Linked DNA regions of Homo sapiens: region 1 is linked to region 2. The links are contacts of gene promoters, found by promoter capture Hi-C in human tissues and cell types (Jung and others, 2019). All regions are on one chromosome and are shown on one strand. The core of a region is centred on a gene start or on the middle of the fragment in contact, and the rest is flanking DNA. Distances in the headings are between cores, read along the strand shown.

Region 1 (7,538 bases), core at 3,062-5,561, 1.3 Mb before region 2:
CGGTGAAACCCCATCTCTACTAAAAATACAAAAAATTAGCCGGGCGTGGTGGCGGGCGCCTGTAAACAGCTACTCAGGAGGCTGAGGCAGGAGAATGGTGTGAACCCGGGAGGCAGAGCTTGCAGTGAGCCAAGATTGCACCACTGCACTCCAGCCTGGGTGACAGAGTGAGACTCTGTCTCAAAAAGAAGAAAAAAAAATTGCTATGTTAAGCACATTATTCCAAGGGTAATAAGGGAAACAGAGTTTTTAATTCTGAATTGTCCTAATCCATGATCTTTCATGTCTCCATGCCTTTTATTTTTTTAGTTTTTGTGGGTACATAATAGTTGTACCTCCATGCCTTTACACTTATGGTTCCCTGATGAACTCTTACTCAAACTTCAAAACCCAGGTCAAATGTTGCTTCTTCAAAGCAGCATTTCCTTATAGCCACCCCATCCACTCCTAAGCAGACTAAATTACTCCTGTTTGCTTCCACGGCGGCAGCTTGTGTGTACATCTATCAAAACACCTGCTGGGATGCACTGTCATAACTTTTGATGTGTGTCCCCACTTCCCTCTCCACTCAGACTGTGAATCTTTAGGGCAGAGCTGCACCAGTCTCCTGCCTAGTGCCTGGTATATAGTGGGTACTAAATAGTTGGATACTGGAGGGAATGGAGTCTCTGGATAAAGAGGCTTTTGATGCCCCGGGAGTGGCTGTTTCTTTTCCAGCACAGCTGATCAGGCCTCAGGTATTAGTGGAAACTCAGAGAACTCCATGACAACAGCTTAGGTGAATAACCAAGCACTTCCTGCCTTAAAAAGGTAGATATTTATTGTTTGTCTCAAAAGAGCTGGCCTGAAATATATAGGTGTGCTTGAAGTAACGGTGACAGATGCTGAGAAGGACTGAGATTCTCCCTAAAAGGGATGACAGGAAGCTCTGTCGGATTTGTTCTAATTCAAGCCATGTGCTAGGTTTGCATGCTTGCCGATTCAACGCATTTGTGTTAATCCACTCCTGAAATCAAATGTCAACCTAAACAGACTACAATCTCACCGAATTAGTTTTACTCAATGGCTTAAAACTATGGGTAACAAAACAGAAATAAGAATCATCTATCAACAATATTCATGGCATTCACAGAACCCTAGGGCAGATAGCATTTTTAGAAAATCACAGACTCTGGCAAAATAGTGCATAATCAATCTGTAGGGAACAAACAGCATTTGGTTGGTATGCTTTTAGAGATAATTCTCATTTTCCTTCGGACCCACTCCATGGGCAAATCCTTGAACTATAAGGAAATGCTCCCTTGCATTTAACTGAAATTAACCATGCTACTTCTTTAGGATTCTGCCTTAGTGGAGAAGGAGATCATTAGAATCAGAGGATAAAAAGCAAAGCATGGAAATAAGGAATCTGTCTAACGCTGCATCACCAGCTCATAGAAGCTAGATTCTCTTTATAAACAAATCATTAAACAACAAACAAATGAAGTACTGCTTTCTAATACAAGTATTATGACCACATTGCCAGAAACTTGGAAAACTTCAGGGGGAAAATGGTCTTGCCACCTTAAAACGATTTAATTATTCTTAATTTATTATTTAATAAAATTGTTATATTTTTAAATATTTTCAAAAGCTTTCACGTAAACTCTTAATGTCAGTACCTCTTTTGTCTCCTCTTGGGTATACTGGAGTCATTCCTAGGAATCAAGTCAGATCCTGTAGGTTCTACATTTTGAAGCTCTTTTACAAGTACTGGCTGGCATTGACTCAAAAGGCAGCTATCTGATGACACAATTTCCTGAAGATCAGCAGTGAGGAGAAAACATCATGTCTGGGTTCTAATCTTTCTTTAGTGATAACACTAGATGCTCCTTCATTCATTCAACAAACATTAATTGAGCACCTATTATGTACCAGACATTGTGCTAGGTGCTAGGGCTACAGCTATGAATTAGATAGATAAGGTCCCTGCTCTCACAGGACTTATAGTCTCATGTGGGTGTGTATATGTAAGTATGTAGACACTGTGTAGAAGAAGAAAGGGAAAACCATGAGAAAGTAGAGTCTCTTAAAAATTAGCTTCCTCCTCTGAAAAAAATAGGATAATAAAGGCATCTACTTATAAGGTTGTTGTGAGAAGTGTGCAAATATATTATTTAAAATGCTAACGGAAACTTCAAACCATCAGAACACAGTAAATACCTTCAATGCTCTGGGGGCCCACAAGATTCATGGCCTGGTGAGCTGGATATTCCACTCGGGGCCTGGCAATGCCCAATTGCTCCATAACACCATGAAGCAGCCTCTGGATATCTGCTTCTGAGACCCGGTCAGGGGTCCGGGGGCTGTAAGCAAATGCTGGAGTCCATCCAGATGCCAGCCAAAACAGTAGGCCAGATAGCATGGTAGAGACCATCCTGGAGACCATTGTCAACCTGCAGATAAAAGACCAAATGTATACTGATAGGCTACAATCGGCAATTGTGATAATACAATTATAATGATGCAACCACTCCAGGTTGTGGTTCGAGGACCACCCAGAAAGGGGTTGTAACAAAGAATCCTTAGGAGGTTGCTTTTGTCTTAAGTTTCCATGCTAGGCAGAGCATCATTGCAGAAAGGTATTAAACAAAACAGTTGCAGGTATCCAATTCCCTCTGTTTGCATTCTTGAGAAAGCTAGGCTGGAATGGCGGTTCTCACTCATAATTTTTATCCTCCTTGTAGCTCCCTGAAAGTTCTGCATTACTCCTAACTTCATCACTCTCTCCCTCTCTTACTAAAACAAATAAACCAAACTTGCTTACATTTTGAGAAAGAGATAGTGGCATCTTGGGTTTTCCCAGTCTCTGGGAATAAAAGTCTAACAGGAGGGAGTCAGGAAGACACAAATCAAGAAGCTCAGGAAGGTTGGGAGTGGTGGCAGGGAAACATTTCAGTTTAGCAAACATCCAATACGTTTGCGATCCTGAAAGGAAGGAAAATGTTCCTTAGATCCAGCCCTGCAATCTGCTGGGGTAGTTTGAGGTTTGTTTGCTCAGCCACATGCTGAGTGATCGTAGGCAAGTCCCTCAGTTTCCTCCTCTGCAAAACGGAGATAATTAAAGCATTTACCTTTTAGGGTTGTTGTGAGGGTGTGTGCAAATACATGTTAAGAGTGTTTAGGACAATGCCAGGCACAGAATGAGCCCCTATATTGCTATTATTATGTTGCTAACATTGCCTTAACAGTTCTGGAGGTTAGAATATGGGGAGGCAGTGGTGGTGAGAGGGAGTTAACTAGCCTGGGGGTGGGAGGGTCAACCTGTCCAAAATGTTGGTTTCTATGGGTATGTCTGCAAAACAAGTGAACATTATCCTTGCAGCTTACCCCACAGCTGCTTAACGTGTTTGGATGCATGCTTCAGGCAGCGGCCTTGCAAACCCTTTTTTTTTTTTTTTTTTTTTTTTTTTGAGACGGAGTTTCACTCTTGTTGCCCAGGCTGGAGTGCAGTGGCGCCATCTCGACTCACTGCAACCTCCACCTCCCAGGTTCAAGTGATTCTCCTGCCTCAGCCTCCCGAGTAGCTGGAATTACAGGCGCCCACAACCAAACCCGGCTAATTTTTGTATTTTTAATAGAGGCAGGGTTTCACCATATTGGTCAGGCTGGTCTCGAACTCCTGACCTCAGGTGATCCACCCCCTCCCCTCAGCCTCCCAAAGCGCTAGGATTACAGGCGTGAGCCACCAGGACCGGCGCAAACCCTCCTTCTAATCATTCTTCTACTGAGGATGGGGGATGGAGAGGTGGGAGGAGGCAAAATCGTGCATTTCCTTTACTGAAACAAAAATTTTTATACCCTCCAATTTCTTTTTCTGCAAAGAAAAGGCCTTTTCTAGCCACTAGATATAAAACCTTGCTCTCCAAAGAGCTGAGAGTAGCTGTTTAACAGCAAAATCTGCAATTCTGATGGAAAAGGCTGGAGGCAGACACGAGGCTCTCCATCTCCATCTTTCCCTTGTCCACTCTGAATGCAGGATGTCATCCCAGCAAACGCCGCTCTGATTTGATGAACTACACAATCTCCTCCCTCAGTACTCCCTTCCCCTTACTGATAGCCAAACATTCTAATCCCCTACGCATCCTTCGTCTGACCCCAGCCTCCACCTCAAGGATTTTAGCAGGACGCCCTCCCACAACTGGCAATACCAAATCTCGGGTTGGCGGCAGGCGGCCGAGCCGACATCAAAACTGTACTCACCGAGGGGCAGCCCGAGGAGCCTACTGCGGTATGGGCCTTGGTGGGGGTCAGGCCAGGAACGGGCGAACTGGAGAGCTAGTGCGTCACCCTCCTCCGCATCTTAGCTCCGCCCCGGCCCCTCCTCCAGCAGGTGGAAGCTGCCTCGCCAGGACTCCCCAGACTGCATCCCAGATAAGTGTGCCTCTCACCAGGAGCCGCACAGCTCTTCAACCCCCACATTCTGCATACAAACCTCTTGACTATGACATTTCCTAGAGACCCTCTTCAGCTCCATCGACCTCCATGTAAGTCATTCACCTCCTCAGTCTCAATTACAACGTGCCAGATCACCACTACAGCACACCTTTAATTTTGTCAACTTCTAGAATATGTTTTTTGTTTTTGTGTCTAAAGCCTTTCAGCTTCAAGAGGGAAGAGGCAATGAATGGTAGAGAGACAAAAGATGAAGTCCTAAGAACTTTTAATGGTGGCTATGATAAGGTATACCCTGCTCTGAGGGGCCTCTTACTAATCAGGAAAACTATGGGGATATTTAATACAAGAAGCCAGAAACTTCCATTAAAGTGATAAACTTGAAAATCTGTAGAAATATCAGCTCTGAGTGTTATTTCTAAACGTCCACACAAACCATCAAGTAAAATTCCACTTTGGCCTGAAGAGAAACCATACTCCCAGCATACTGTAGAAGTATGTCCAGGTAGTCCCAGATTCTTAAATAAGGGTTTATGGAGCACCTACTATGTGCAATCTTGAACACTGAAATTTGTTCAAATACTAAAATCAAAATGTAAAGCCATACAATAAATATGGCACTACAAATTTGATCAAGATGGAGGATGAGTAAAGAACCTGGGGGTCTCAAAACAAGTAACCTGATGAGGTTAGAATCCAGATCTATTTATCTTAGCTCTAGAGAGCAAATCCATTATCATCTACAGCAATTTTTATGCAATAAATAGAGGCTGGCAAAATTCATTTATGAGACACATGGCCTTTCATTTTGAAGCCAAGCCTCTTTCCCAGTACTTTTTCTTTCACGGATGCTCATCTGCTTCTTGCTTCTTGTTTCAATGCATGCTAAATCAACAGGACAAACACTATCCATTAAATGGCTCTAGGCTCACTGGCCATGCTGGAGTTAGTATTTATTATTGATGCACAGAGACTTTTTTCAATTCTGAGTTTTACTTTAGCTTTGTTCATTGTTATCTTCATTTTGTGGTTGAAAAAAATGAAGTCACTACAATTTACTGCTTTTGTGTTAAATTTAACTGAAATAGATCAAAATGCCTATGCTTCATTTGAAATTTGGTGTTTCAAAAATAAAACTTCATATATATTTAAGAGATCACAGAGGTTAGGTGCAGTGGCTCACGCCCATAATCCCAACACTTTGGGAGGCCAAGGTGGGAGGATCACAAGGTCAGGAGTTCGAGATCAGCCTGGCCAATATGGTGAAATCCCGTATCTACTAAAACTACAAAAATTAGCTGGGCGTGGTGGTGCATGCCTGTAGTCCCAACTACTTGGGAGGCTGAGGCAGAAGAATCGCTTGAACTCGGGAGATGGAGGTTGCGGTGAGCTGAGATTGTGCCACTGCACTCCAGCCTGGACGACAGAGTGAGACTCCGCCTCAAAAAAAAAAAAAAAAAAAAAAGAAAAGAAAACAAAAAACAAACTAACTAAAAAAGATCACAAAATTAAGGTTTAAATTCTGCCACAATTAAGAAAAACATGACTATTAAAATCCTACATTAAGTTCTTAGTGATCATATTATAGAATGTGGCCATGCAGTCTACTAAGTTCTATGTATTAAGTTGTTATTAGATAACCAAATTAATATTAGATCTTTATTTACATTTATAAGACAGTGAGAAGAACCCATGAGGTTACTGCACGTCCAGACACTTTCATATCATTTCCTCAAATATTCCATGAAGTTAGCAACATTATCTCTATTTTGTATAAGAAAAAATAAAAACGCATTAAATCAAGTTTAAAACAAAACTTTTCTGGCTCTCTAGTTACCCTACCTTCAAGCTAGTCACCTTCACATTCCTGTAATACTCCGTATAGCAGCTTTCAGCTAACAAAAATAGGAGTCACATGTGGTAGTTTTTAAAACAGACATGTTTCATTATTGATTCATCTCTCAGAAAAGCCAGTTCAGGTAGTATGTACAGTTAAACCCCTAGGACTTCTTACTGAATTAGTCTTCAAATTCAACATTTCATCCTTCCCTTGATGGATATAAAAAGACGTTAATGCATTTTTAAAATTTAAAAATTGTTTAAAGCAGACAACATATATCTGACTATATGAATATTTTGTCTCTACTTACAATTAGAAATGCCATAAACATCTACAAACCTATTTGATATCAAATAAACAAAGTAGAACCTAGCCAAGCAAACATCTGATGATTTGAAATTCCTCGTACATACTTATGCTGTAAGTCTGGTTGCTCCGAGTGGCATGAATGCTGCTCTAATCTGCTCCAACATCTAAACATGACATTCTAACAACCAATCTGAAAAACTACCTTTAGTGGTTGATTCTGTCTGCTTATTCCTTCCTCTACAACCTAGAGAATATGTTCTATTGTTCATAATACTCTTTCCTCAAAGATGTGTAATTTGTAATAATTTAAAATATAAATTTAGACAGATTTACTTGACAATTTGGTGCATGTTCTAAATGGCACTTTGAATTTCATGAGAGCCTTAGTCAAGTCATTTTCCAGAGAGTTATCTTTAATGTCTATGCTAAATAAATAACATTTACACACAGGACAAAATCATCATAGGTTTTTATCCAAGTAAAAAAGGTAAAGAGGTGCATCTACTATTTCAAATTCCAAAATCGAGCATCTACATATAAGAAATCACCTTGGTTAATTTTTTTCAAGATTATCCCTCTTTAAATAATTGCCAAATCTATATTGGACAGAACAGACACAAACGTGTTTGTGCAAATTATCTTTAAAAACATAGTATGGCTTAAAAGTTATCAATTATTTCCACATCATAATATATGAACATATTTTAGTCATTATTCTGCCTTAACCATTGTTCTTAGTTCGAGTGAACACAAGGTACACCTACTGGCACTATAAATGAAATTACTCTGCCCCAAATAAAAATAGAGTTTTAGGATGCTATTGAAGGAAATTAATTTCTAGGAATTTTGGCAAGGACAATAAACATTAATATAATTCCAGACATAAGATTTGCAGAGTTTATCTCTACCCTTTATATGCTAGAAATTTATTTATTTTAGAAACCTTATCTGACTT
Region 2 (7,020 bases), core at 3,687-6,186:
CAGGCTGGCACCTCCCATGCTGCATACATTTCTGCATTGTTTGAGGAGTTTCACAACTAGGGCCACTGGCAGCCTGGGACAGCGAGGGTACGAGAGGGAGGGGTGGGCGTGCTGAGCCACTGGCCTGTGTGTGTCTCTGAACAAAGCACAGGCCACCAACAAGCCTGGCTTTGCCCTGGGTAAAGGAGATCCCACCCAGATGCCCTCTGCTCTGCCAGATGCCCTCTGCTCTGCTTTCCCAGGCAGCAGCATCAGGGAGGACCTGCAGGGAGCCCAAGGGGCGGTGTGCTTGGAAACAAGTCTCTAAAGCCAGAGTGTGCCCTGGGGGAGGGGTCGCAATAATCTGTCAGGATCAAATCCTTGCTTCAGTGGGTAAAGATAAATTTCAGGTGAACCCCACCCAAATTATCACAGGAAATGGCTGACAGAATGTGATCTTACTCTACTTCCCTCCTCCACCCCAAACAGGGCCAGGTGACCACAAACATGCCTCGGGTTCTGCAGGAGGGAAGGCTGGGCACGCCACTGTGCCCACCTTTCCATGGGACCCCCAGAACCCAGAAAGGGCCCAGCATGCAGAGAGATGTTTTGACTCCAGCGCTGGAGGGAAAACAGGGCACAGAGCAGTTTTGAAAACAATTCTCTGTGGGAACAAATAGGTAGAAATGTATTCAGGGTCTCTCTGCCAAGAAAGACCAAGTGGCCATTCTGCTGGGGGCCTGCCAAGTCTCCCCATTCAGGACAACACGCAGGACTCTCCAGAGGCAGGATCTGGGCAACCAGTCTGCCCTCAAGAGGGCCCCAGCCTGACCTATCGAAGGTGAGTCCTTGAATTCCTGCATCAAAGCACCTCAGGTTCCAAGAAAATCTGCTCCTGGTCTTGCTGCTCCCCTAAGCCCCTCTTAGCAAACTTTCCAGGTCTGGACTCGGAAGTTCTAATTGGCCAAATAATAAAGTAGCACGAGCTGCAAAGATGTTTTTCTTGGTTTTGTGTTATTACGCATTGTTATAATATCAACAATTACCTAAATGTGACAGAGACCAATGTGTCCACAGGATAACTCCTGGAAGAGTGGGAGTGGGAAACCACACTGCTACACAGCTAACCAGGACAGAAAGCTCTTAGCATGCAGCTGTTCAGAGAGTGGGGGTGGAAAATCAGAGCAGAGCCACGGCCAAGGGACCACAAGTGCCTCCAGAGTCAAGGCTGACCCTTGCACTTCTCAAAGGGTCTTCACATACTTGACCTCATGTCCCTGAAGACTTTGCAGGTGGTCAGGGCAGACATCACCAAGTTGCAGGGAGATCTGGGAACCGGTCCCTGGTCACATAGAGGAACAGCACAGAGCAGCTGGCCACCTTCCTGGTTGTGATATTCACCCTCTGCCATGAAATTACTGTGGATCCTGGAAATGCGGGAAGTGGGGCGGGGGCACCTTCCCGAGCCTAATGGAGTACGGGGCCCGGCATGACCTCAGTCACTGACTGCAGAGACCCCACAATGCTGCTAGAGGCCCACAAACCACGGACACCTCAGAGCCCACGGCTGCAGCAAAGCCATCACCTTGTGCCCTGCCTTCTCAGTCATCCCTGAGGCCTGCCTGGGTTTCTCCCTTCTGCAAGATGCTCTTTTCTCCCCCAACAGCAAGCTCCTCTTCTCCCTTGAGGAACACCAGTTACTTATGCTCTGCACACCTGGGAAGGGGCTGGAAATGGGCTTCCCAGGGGTGCCCTCCACCAGATGCTGAACCAGACTCCCTCCAGAGGCAGGTTTCTGGGCAGTTCAACTCTCATAATGGGTCACCTGGGGTACCGGTAACATGCACTCCCAACTGCACGCTGGAACTGTGTGTACTAGGTCGGCATCAGGGGCCCGGAAATCTGCATTCTTCCCAACTCCCCGCCACCCCGCTGCCGGAGCCCTGTGCACTTCCAACTTGGAGGCCGGCTTCCACCCTGGAGGTAGGACTTCTGATGTCTGCACACCTGAAGGGTGGAATAGTTTCTCTGCTTCAAGAACGAGCACTGTAGCACACTGCAGACACTCAAAGGGTTGGTCCCGTGCTCTTTTGCCTGCCTTCGGTTTCCAGGCGCTCCGAGGAAACTGGCCCCACCTACAGCGGGAGGCCCGGGTCTCCAGAGCCCCTGCGCCAATATTCTAGTCAAGAGGCTCGCGCGGGGCCAGAGCCTGAAGCGGGAGATGAACCCACCAGGAAGACATCCCAAGGCTGAGGCCCTGACAAGCCGGCCCCGCCCACGACGGCGAGCCCCTCCCCTCGGCCACCCCCCTCCTCAATTCCCCGCTACCGGTGCTGCCGAGTGGCAGGCCACCCTGACAGAGGCCGTAGAAAAATTTCCCAAACATTAAGTATCCTGCCCAGCACGGGCATCATCCCCCAAAGCGGATCTCAACCCCAGCCACGCCCCAATCGCTGCCCCCACCCGATACTCAGGATCCACCTGGAGCCGAGCTGAGCCTAGCCTGGCCCCTCCCCCAGGGCCACACCCACCCTGCAGCCGCGTCCCGAGCTGAACTCTGAGCCCACACTGACTCCCACCCCCAACCTGAGCCCCCACACCCTTAACTGACCCCGAATGCCTAGAAATGGCCCCGCTCTCACCCTCTACCCCATCACCTGCCACGTGGTTTGGAGCGGCCACAAAAGCCTCCCTGGGGAAAGTTAGTCCGAGATCTGAAAGCCTCACCTGCAGACCTTGGGCCCTTTCAGTTCCAAATGGTAAAAAAAAGGGGCCTTCAGCTCTAGGGTATCCAAGGCTGCAGCTTCTTTTTATGCCTTTTAATCACTATGTGAACTATTTTACAAATGAGAGACCACCACCCTTGGTCACAAGACAACAGTATTCAGTAGACGGGTTTTGAGCCTGCCCCCAAGGTAGAAGAGGTGAGTGTCACAGAAGAACTCACGTGAGCTCAGAGGAAGCATACAATTCTTTACACCAAAATGGGGAAGGATTGCCGTCCATTAAAATATTTTCATCTTTATGTTAAAAACGAAACAAAAAGGGGGGAGGGAACCGCCACAGATGAATCAACTACAAAGTATCGGGCCGCGCGTGGGAACTGTTGCCGCTGGGCTGGCGGGGGCGGGCGGTGATCCCCAGGCTGGAGGCTCAGCGCCCGCCCTGGTGCAGGTGCCGCCCGCCCCGCACCGGCCCAGGGCAGGTGAGAGGTGGGCAGGCGAGAGGGCAGCACGGAGGATGGGCAGCGGCCAGGGCATTCCTTTCCGGAGAGAGCCTCGAGGCCGAGGAGCCTAGGGCCGGGCGCGCCCCCGCCGGGCCGGATGGGCGGGGGCTCCCACAAAGAGCCGCAGGCGGGGAGCGGGACCCGGGACCGCCCCCCGCATCGCCAAGCGCCGCCGCTGACTTTGGTTACGACAAATTAAACCTTAGAGCGCTGGAAAAATTACAGGAAGAAGAGAGCGAAGAATGTGCCGAGTGGCGAAGGAAACCTTGTCCCTGCGTGAACTTCGCCCGCCGCGCGCCGGGGCCGGCCCCTCCCCTCCTGAGCGCGCGCCCGGGCAGCGGGGGAGGAAACGAGGAGGGACCCCGGAGAGCGTCCCCTGCCCCCGCTCCGGGCGCCCCACCGTCACGAGTGCCGCCTGCGGTCCACACCCAGGCCGCCCGCACCTGCCCGCGCCGCCTCCCGGCCGGGAGGGGTCCCCGCCCCCAGCCCAGATGACTATATCCGCCCCCGCGGCCCCACCCGAGCGCGCCCGGGGAGGGGGCGTGCCCGGCGGGGGCGCGGTCGCCTGGCGGGCGCCGGCTCCGAGAGCCAAGACCCGCCTCGCGCGACGCGCGGGGCCAGCCGCGGGTCGGAGCGGCAGGGGAAGGGGCGAGGCCCCGGGCGTTCCGGCCCGCCCGGCCCCCACCTCGCGCCCCATCGGGGACTCCGGGGGCGTGGTCGGGCAGCTCGCGCCGACCCCGTCCGCGCGATCCGGGCGCCCGCGCCGCCCCACTGACCTGTGTGAGTTCTCAGGTGCGCCTTGAGGTGCGAAGATTTCCCGTAAACTTTCTCGCAGCCCGCGTAGTGGCACTTGTGCTTCCTCTGCGGGGACTCGAGGTCGGCGCGACTTCGGCCCCGCCGGACCCTTTGTCTGAGGCCGGGCTCGCCGCTCCCCGCGGGCCCCGGCTCCCGCTCGGGCTCCAGCCCCGCCTCGGGCTCCGGCTCGCTCCACGCCGGGCTGGGGGGCGCGGCCGCCGCGCCTTCGGCGCCGGGGGAGGTGGGCTCGGGGGCGGGCGGCGGCAGGCGGCAGGGGGTCCTCGCCTTCCGGGCCGCGGCGCCCTCCCTGCGCTCCGCCGGGGCGGGCGCCGGCGCTTGCTGGTTGAGGTCCGCTAGGATCCGCGCCACCACGAAGAGCGAGGCGCTGTCCTTACCGTCGCGGCGCTCCTCGACGCGGGGCAGCGTGGGGGTGGCGGCCACGGCCGCGCCCTCGGGCCGGGACTCCGGCCCCTCCCGCGGCCCGTGCACGACCGCGCGGCTCGACATGGACACGAGGCACTCGGCGGCGAAGTGGTCCACATAGGCGGCGGCTGCCATGCTGCGGGCTGGGGCCGGCGGCGGTGCTCTTGCTGCGAGTCGTCAGCCGCGCATCCGCACCCACGGCCTCGGGAGAGCGGGCGGGGGGCGGGGGCGCGGCGCGCCCTCTCCTCGGGCTGGGCTGGGCTGGGCTGGGCGCGCAGCCGCCTGTGCCGTCACCCGCGCGGCTCCGCGTCTGCGAGGCGCCGGCCCGGCCGGGCACCGAAGAGTGAGCGCATGGGGCGCGCGGGCGACTGGGGTCCCCGCGCGGCGTCAGGGGCGGCCGGTTCTAAGGATGCCGAGCGGCAACGTTAGGGACCACCTCGCCAAGTCGCGGCCGCAGCTTCGCCGCGCATTGTGGCAGGCGGGACAGCTGCCGTGCGCGCCGCGGCTCCGTGTGGGCGGCCCGGCCCCGGGGGTGGGCGGGGCCGGGGCCACATCTGGACCCGACGTCAGCCCCCAGCCACATCCTGGCGGCGCAGGTTACAGGCGGCGGCGGCTGCGGGGAGCTGCGCGCGCGGAGGGGGCGGGGACCCCAGAGCGCGCACCGGCGGAACGGAGCGGTCGCGTGCCCGCGCCTGGGCAAGGGGGCGTGACCGAGGGCCGGGACAGACGCCATTGGTCCGTGAGTGCACGGCCAGGCCAATCCGAGCCGTTAGAGGGGCGTGCCCGGTCCCGGGCCCTGCGCGCGCCAGTGGGCGTGTCCCCTGGGCCGGTGGGAGGAGGGGCGGAAACTGGAGCGGGGCGCGCTGACGCATGACGTCCGGGGGCGGCGGGCCGGGTAGTCGCGGCGCGGAGCGGCTGCTTGTACCCCCCGCGGCGGGGACACAGCGAGCACTTCTCTGCCGGAGCTTTTATGTGGTGACAGCCTTGGCCCCCGGCATGGAGGGGAGCGGTTTCTGGAGGGCGCCATTTGTTCCTCCCGCGATGGGCGCCGGCGGGGAGGCGTGTCTGCCCGGCCGGGCGCGGGGCTGCCTAGGGGCGGAACGCACTCGCGCCGCGCCCTCCGCCGCCGGCTTGCCGGGTGGCCGCGCCTAGAGCCTCAGGCCGCTCGCCCTCCCCACGCCCCTGCCTTGCAGAGCTCCGGGAGTCCGGGCGGGGCAGCTCCCGCGGGAGGGACAGACTCGGGCTCGTTCCTGGGGTCCGGGGTGCGGCCGCGCTGCCCTTCAGCTCGGGTCAGCCCGAGCAGGACTGGCCTCGGCTGGCGGTGAGCCTGGCAGCCCGGGTGGCGCGCCCACCGCGGCCTGTGCCTCCAGAAGCGAACTACGTGCCAGGGCGGCCGGCGCCGCTGCTGAGGGAACGCGGGGCCCCTTCCTCCCCATCCCGCCGCAGGCCCGCTGCCAACTCTTCTAGGCTGCCCCTCTCCCACCGCGGTCGGGGGGGCTTCAAACGCCACCAGCTGCGAGGACCCCGCCCACCGCGCCCCACCCGCCCGCTGTCTGGGCCTCCCGGAGGAAATGCTCGGCTGCGCCCAGCCCGCGCCTCCCAGCCCGGGCTGGGCCACCTTGCCCTTGACTCTCACGGTAACCCCTACCCCAGCCCGCGGCCCCAGCCATTCTCCAGGCCTGGGCCGTCCTCGGAGACGCCGGTGAATAACTTCCCACCGCCGCGGAACCGGGCTCAGCAAACCCCCTACTGCCTCGCCCCGTTGCATTGTGCTTAATGGACGTTCGAAGGAGTCAGCCACCCTTGCTGTGTTCTGAGAGGAGCCTGGAGAATGAAGGAGCCCGGGCACTCACCCTCAGTGGACCCTCGCAGTGGGAGGGGGGTGTCATTCTTCTCTCAGAATTAAGGTTAATAGCCGAGTTCGAGTTCTCACCAAATTAATTTGGGGTTGGAGCTCAGTAAGACTGGTTTTCAGGTAACCGACGAGGGACCGAAACGGCCATTCTGGGTTGCGTGTTACGGTGAACAGCAAACTGCATGGATGTTTGAGCACCCTCAGTATCTGTAACTAAAACCCTGAAATGCGGTCTCGCTGATTGAGTTGCTACCCTCTGGGGAGACTAAAGGTGCTGGACTGGGTCTGGTCCCTTTAGGAGGGTCTGTGCTTGGTAGAAAGTAATCGTGTTTCTTCCAGGCAGATTGTGTTGATGACATTTAATAAGAGACGTGTGTCCTGACCAAGTAATGATTCGGAATGTTCCTCTATTCCCACCACATGTCACAATTAGTCACTTCTTAAGGAAGGAGTGGTCCTACACCAGCTTATCAGCCACCCATACCCTCCTGGCCCCTTTCCAGCCAGCAGAATTCTCCCCAATCTTCAAGGTGCCACGTCTCCCCACTGGGTCACCCCAGCCGGCATACACAATGGTAGGCCGTCTAGAGTCTGCACTATTCTAGTATTAGGCTACTACAGCCATGAACAAAACAGGCCTGCCTTGGGTGAGGGGATGCCCTACGTGGTCAAGGGTCCTCTGCATTGATGCACCCCCCTAAGAGTTTTCCAAGAATGTGGGTCCCAAAGAATTTTGACTGTG

What was found. Contacts are between HindIII fragments. The study calls those that stand out against the background at their distance.
Region 1: a contact is called between the fragment with the promoter of SCG5 here and the fragment with the promoter of KLF13 in region 2, in 1 of the 25 tissues and cell types used here (mesenchymal stem cells).

Annotation. Positions count from the first base shown.
Region 1 is chr15:32,638,483-32,646,020 of GRCh38, reverse strand. SCG5 (secretogranin V) reads right to left here and starts at 4,311. Exons shown (of 6, transcript NM_001144757.3): 1 at 4,243-4,311; 2 at 2,203-2,435. The coding sequence starts at 2,428. ARHGAP11A-SCG5 (ARHGAP11A-SCG5 readthrough) reads right to left here. Exons shown (of 14, transcript NM_001368319.1): 10 at 2,203-2,435. It overlaps ARHGAP11A (Rho GTPase activating protein 11A), which reads right to left. Exons shown (of 12, transcript NM_014783.6): 12 at 6,080-7,538. RefSeq lists enhancers at 3,539-4,177, 4,178-4,818. The HindIII fragment of the contact is 11,081 bases long and covers 1-7,538 here.
Region 2 is chr15:31,324,751-31,331,770 of GRCh38, reverse strand. It overlaps KLF13 (KLF transcription factor 13), which reads right to left and starts at 4,936. Exons shown (of 2, transcript NM_015995.4): 1 at 3,982-4,936. The coding sequence starts at 4,558. RefSeq lists enhancers at 1,540-2,104, 5,214-5,727 and a promoter at 4,755-5,811. The HindIII fragment of the contact is 14,180 bases long and covers 1-7,020 here.